2 separate regions of the Homo sapiens genome follow, and region 1 is linked to region 2. The links are contacts of gene promoters, found by promoter capture Hi-C in blood cells and fetal thymus (Javierre and others, 2016). All regions are on one chromosome and are shown on one strand. Each heading gives the region's core, a stretch centred on a gene start or on the middle of the fragment in contact. The rest is flanking DNA. Distances are from core to core; before and after follow the strand shown.

Region 1 (2,700 bases), core at 170-2,669, 400 kb before region 2:
CTGATCTGCCCCACCCAAACAGGAAGACTTCTGAGTTTGTAAAAGCATATTAGCAGCCACATATACTGCCCATGAGAGTTTAAAGAGATTTTAGTTAAATAAACCCAATTAGCCTAGCACGGTGGCTCACGCCTGTAATCCCAGCACTTTGGGAGGCCAAGGCAGGCTGATCACCTGAGGTTAGGAGTTCAAGACCAGCCCAACCAACATGGAGAAACCCCATCTCTACTAAAAATACAAAATTAGCCGGGGTGGTGGCGCATGCCTGTAATCCCAGCTACTCGGGAGGCTGAGGCAGGAGAATCGCTTGAACGGTGAGCCGAGATCACGCCATTGCACTCCAGCCCAGGCAACAAGAGCGAAACTCCGTCTCAAAAAATAATTAAATAAATAAATAAACCCAATTAAAGAACTATGTTTAAGGTTGTGTGTTTACGTCTGTGTATATATTTGTGGGGATATGGGACAATTCACTTACTTCATATTTCTTTGGATTTAGCTTCTTGTTGGCTGGAGAGAAGTATATGGTAGGAAAACTGGGGAAAGAAACATTTATTAATTTCAAGCAGTTATGTGGGCCCATACTGCAGAACTCTTAAGCCAAGAAGGAATCAGTGGTTCTGCCTTCAACTGAATATGAAAACTATGTCTAGTAATGATTTCCTGGTGGTTACAAGCTTTATTCCTATCTATTGCCTAGACACTTTTGTTAAGTTTTAAGCCACTTACCCTCTGACTTCATATGGAGAAGGCACATCATTGGCTGTGGCATCCATCTTGGCTATGACGATATTTGGGTCTTTGCTGAGCTGTTAATAAAACAGGTTAAATGTTTACATTTCAAGTTTTCAGTGACAGAGGGACACTTAGTCAATTGAAGACTTAAAACAATCTCATTCTTCAAACACTAAAAATACAAAAATTAGCCGGGTGTGGTGGTGCGCACCTGTAATTCCAGCAGATAAACTGCTGTTCATGTGGGAAGAGTGGTTTGCAGATGGTAGTACCTCACTTTCCACAAGCTTCCCTTTTTTCTCTTGTATTAAGACTCTACATATTGCCACCTTCAAATTTACCTGGTCTGAATAAGACATTACAGGGGCTAAGCCAAATGTTTTAAGATGAAGGACCATATGGATTCATGTAAGCCATTACCAAAATTCAGAAGTCCTTAGATATTTTTAACCATTATCTAGATTGAGCCTGAGGAATGGAATGTTAAAAGTGGGTATCTCAGGCACTGCACAGGCTGGAGCACTAGGGGGCAGTCACGAGAAAGTGAGTAAACAGCAAGTAATTGGGAAAAAAATCTATCAGTACTTAGGAACCAACCAAATTAGCCAATGCTGAATACATACATAAACTTACTGCTCCCGCTCAAATGTTATCCTCAGAATAGGGTTCACACTTACCTTCTCGCCAAGTTCTTTATACTTGGGCTCCAGGTTCTTACAGTGACCACACCAAGGGGCATAAAATTCAATCAGCACATCTTTATTTTCATTATTCACTATTTCATCAAAATTCTCTGCTACCACTACCTGGAAAACACAGAAGAATCTCTAGTTGGTAACATAAAAAAATAAATTCACAACTGTATTTGTTCCTAGACCCAATCCCTCTCTAATTTGATGTGTTACCACAGAAAATAAGTCATGGAAACCCAAATCACATTTACAGATTGTATTAAAGATGTTGTCATTCACTAGATACCAACTCGTTCCTATGTCTGTCACCTGTCAAACTATGTTCAGGAAGTTACAGGACATAGAAGTGCTACCCAACCATTCCTTAAAATAATTTCAAGCCAAGCTTGGTGGCACATGCCTGCAGTCCAAGCTACTCAGAAGGCTGAGGCAACAGAGTAAGACCACATCCCTATAAAAAATTCAAAGCAACACACTGTTCTTAGGGGTTGCTCTATCCTCAAGAGTAACTTAGCCCAATATAAATTTCATCAGAAAATTCTACGCAGGCTTTACACGCTTGCCCCTACCAAGCATTATGAGCCCTGCCAATGCTTTTTTTTTTTTTGAGATGGAGTTTCGCTCTTGTCGCCCAGGCTGGAGTGCAGTGGCATAATCTTGACTCACTGCAACCTCTGCTTCCTGGGTTCAGGCGATTCTCCTGCCTCAGCCTCCCGAGTAGCTGGGCTTACAGGCGCCCGCCACCATGCCCGGCTGATTTTTTTGTGTTTTTAGTAGATACGGGGTTTCACCATGTTGGGCAGGCTGGTCTCAAACTCTTGACCTTGTGATGTGCCCGCCTTTGCCTCCCAAAGTGCTGGGATTACAGGCATGAGCCACCGCTTGGCCTGCCAATGCTTATTTTATGACTCGGGAGTAAGGACAAAAAAAAAAAGAGATGGCCAACGAAGTCTTCATTTAGACCCCACAGTTTTGGAACAAAGAAATGAGGACAGGCAATTGCTCATAGCTTGATGAGGCTGTGAGCACCTCACCTTCACAGGCCCATCATTGCTCTCTGGGATAGGTTCAGACTTCAGGTATCTCTTCAGATTGCCATCAAAGTAATCCTGCAGGAACCTCTCCAGAGCCTTCCCATCACGCCTACAATTGGAAAACAAGGGTAAGGCTTGTTAATCTATTCCCACCGCTGAGAAAATTACAGCAATTTCTTTGAATAGTTACTATGTATTTTAGCTTTTCAAGGCTAAAAAAGGGGGACTCTCATCTCTCA
Region 2 (2,700 bases), core at 102-2,601:
CAAATACATGTTCATAAATAATAACGAAAGGAAACTGTTTGATTTATAGGTTTTATAGACTAAGAATGTACTTTTTCTGCTCTTCCACAGTCTCCTAAGAATCGGCATGTCTTGGTGATCAGACGGACCTAGATTTCAGTCTTGCCACTACTAGGACTGGCCAGCATAAAGTTTTCTGAGCTTCAGTTTGCTCATTTGTTAACTGGTAGAAACAATACCTAAGTGGACTAAATTATTGAGAGCATTAGATAACATTACTGGAAGCAGAAGCAGGTAAAAGTAGTTCAAATACTGAAGCCAGACAGACCTGGCTTCAAAACTAAGCTCTGTTAATTACTAGCTATGACCCCGATAGTTATTTAACTATTCTAAACCTAGCTTAATCTGTAAAATGGATAAGGTGGTTGTGAGGATTAAATAAGATAATGCATACGGAACATCATACATTCCTGGTTACACAAAGGCCCCCTACCAAGTGCTTTACCTAGTGCAGAAATTTTCTGGTAAAGGAGTAATGAGGGAAACACCACACGCTCTCGATTTCATTTATTTCCTTCAACAAACTTTACTGAGCGCTTACCATGTGTTTGGGAGCTGTGTATTTGGCCCAGTACTTCAAAACTCAAACAATGCACGTGTGAAAATAAATAGGAGAAAGTGCCTCCCACACTTCTATATCATTCCCCAGCAACTGTCAGACACCTGGACCTCAGGCCCTTTCCTCGCCCCGCCACAGGTGGGGCTCTTCGAGGTCTGCCCTCCGTTTTCTAGCCTAGGCCCGGCCTCTCTAGGTGTCGCATCAGCCTTGACCCTAAGGGGCTGCCCTCCAGTCACCTGTCCAGGGATACGCCCCCAGCCCTGGAAGCCCCGCTCGCTAGGTCCCTCAGCCTACTCCCCCAGGCGCTGGCTCAGGTCCCCCCTCCTGCGCTCCCTGGTTCCCGCGCTCTGCGCCGGACAGTACCTGCAGGCCACTCCGCTTGTTCCAGGTGAAAATGGACCCAGGGTACCCGCTCAGAGCCAAGAGCAGTTCGTGGATCATTCCCACGGCGGACCTCGAGTCCCTGGTTATGTCACCCCCTCCTCCAGCGCACCTCCAGGCGACCACGAGGGGAGTGCTTCCCCTTCCACACGCGCACCGGCCCCTGGGTCGGGCGGTTTGTGCCGAATCAACCCACCGAGACAATCGCTGCGGCGGAGCGGACGGGAAGCTGGGAAGGGGTCGCGGGGGAGTCCCGGAAGTTCGGCAGCTCAACGGGGTCCACCAGCTACTCCCGCCCGGGCTCTGCGGAGACTGAGTCGCGGTCGCTGCCCTCGCGCATGCGCCCTCGGTGCCCCGAGCCGCCCGCTCGGACTTCCGGTTTGGGAGCTGTACTTGGGAGGCTGGAGAGCCGGGGCCGGGGCCGGGGCCGGGGCCGGGGTCAGGGTCGGACCCCGAGTGGGTGAGGCTGGCCCGGAGGCAAGGATGCGAGGGGGTTGAGGGGCAGCTCGAGAGGGAGACGCTCCCAGGGGTGGGCTGGAGGGCGCCCTCAGGGCGCCTTAGCCGGGTCAGAGGCCTCTGGAGGGACCGCACGACGGCTCCGGGTTACCCGGCCGGAGGGAGCGGAGACAAAAGAGGCCAGAATCCCGCAGCCGCTGCTCCTTGGGCTGAGAGCTCTGCGTCCGCGAACCGGCAGCACCTGGAGCCTCTGGCCGACACCCGAGCCCGTCCTCAGGAAGCCCGTTACTACTGCTCCTCGGATTCCGTCTCTCCTGCCCAATGTGACTCTCCCCAAGCCCCCATGGTCCTCGCTTTGGAGCCAAAACCAGCTTCTCTCCTTGCGCGAGGTTTTCCGACAGGTAGCTCCCTAATCCTTGCTGAGCGGCTACTACTACGCGGGGAAAACAAAGACCCGAGATTCTGGACGTGATTTTTGCCTGGGGTGGGCTTTGGGAGTTGTGCAGCCCGAGGGGGCGGGGCGGACGCAGAAGGCCTCGGGAAGGACTGCGGAGATACTGGGGGAGATCAGCTGCGACCAGCTGGACAGAGGCTTTTTGTTGCCTTCAAGCAGGATGGTGACTTGTCTTTAGATCCTCTCGAACTCCAGCTCTCCTATATGGTTCGGACTCACTGTGCAACATTGGCCAGGGAAGTTAAATGGGATCGGATTTGGAGGAGGTGGGAGAGGGGCAGACAGTACTTTTATTCTCTGCTGCTTCCTGGGGCTGCCCTGGAAGTCAACCAGAAAAGCAGTTTTTGCAAAGTCTATTTACTGAAGATTGTGCTACCTTAGAAGGCCACTCGGAGCACATGGAAAGGCAGGCCAGCTCTGGCAAGACTTTAGACATATGAATGTATTCCTTCTGATAGTGCCATCTTTCTCTGCCCTAGGAAGAAACACCTCTTACAGTCATCTGCAGGGGATTCTCCAAGGACATGGGAAGATAGATGTAAGCCCTGGAACCCAGACTCCTAAGCGAAGGGAAGCTGCATTCTGCTATTAATGATGGCCAAATCAGCTCTAAGAGAGAATGGCACTAACTCTGAGACCTTCCGACAGCGTTTCAGGAGATTCCATTACCAGGAGGTGGCTGGGCCGCGGGAGGCTTTCAGCCAACTCTGGGAACTTTGCTGTCGGTGGCTAAGGCCGGAGGTGCGCACCAAGGAGCAGATTGTAGAACTGTTGGTGCTAGAGCAGTTCCTGACCGTCTTACCTGGGGAGA

The links. Contacts are between HindIII fragments. The CHiCAGO score rates a contact against its expected background, and 5 or more counts as called.
Region 1: a contact is called between a fragment that was not itself captured here and the fragment with the promoter of ZSCAN29 in region 2, in 2 of 17 cell types (erythroblasts and megakaryocytes). The highest score is 6.1, in erythroblasts.

What each region holds. Positions count from the first base shown.
Region 1 is chr15:43,768,359-43,771,058 of GRCh38, reverse strand. It overlaps PDIA3 (protein disulfide isomerase family A member 3), which reads right to left. Exons shown (of 13, transcript NM_005313.5): 9 at 2,462-2,570; 10 at 1,413-1,541; 11 at 730-809; 12 at 479-536. Among named protein-coding and RNA genes, the nearest start is that of ELL3, 7.3 kb to the left of the region's middle. The HindIII fragment of the contact is 790 bases long and covers 1,025-1,814 here.
Region 2 is chr15:43,369,694-43,372,393 of GRCh38, reverse strand. It overlaps ZSCAN29 (zinc finger and SCAN domain containing 29), which reads left to right and starts at 1,351. Exons shown (of 6, transcript NM_001372080.1): 1 at 1,351-1,836; 2 at 2,369-2,700. The coding sequence starts at 2,481. TUBGCP4 (tubulin gamma complex component 4) reads right to left here and starts at 1,293. Exons shown (of 18, transcript NM_014444.5): 1 at 962-1,293. The coding sequence starts at 1,039. RefSeq lists an enhancer at 1,163-1,282 and a silencer at 1,383-1,652. The HindIII fragment of the contact is 4,998 bases long and covers 1-2,700 here.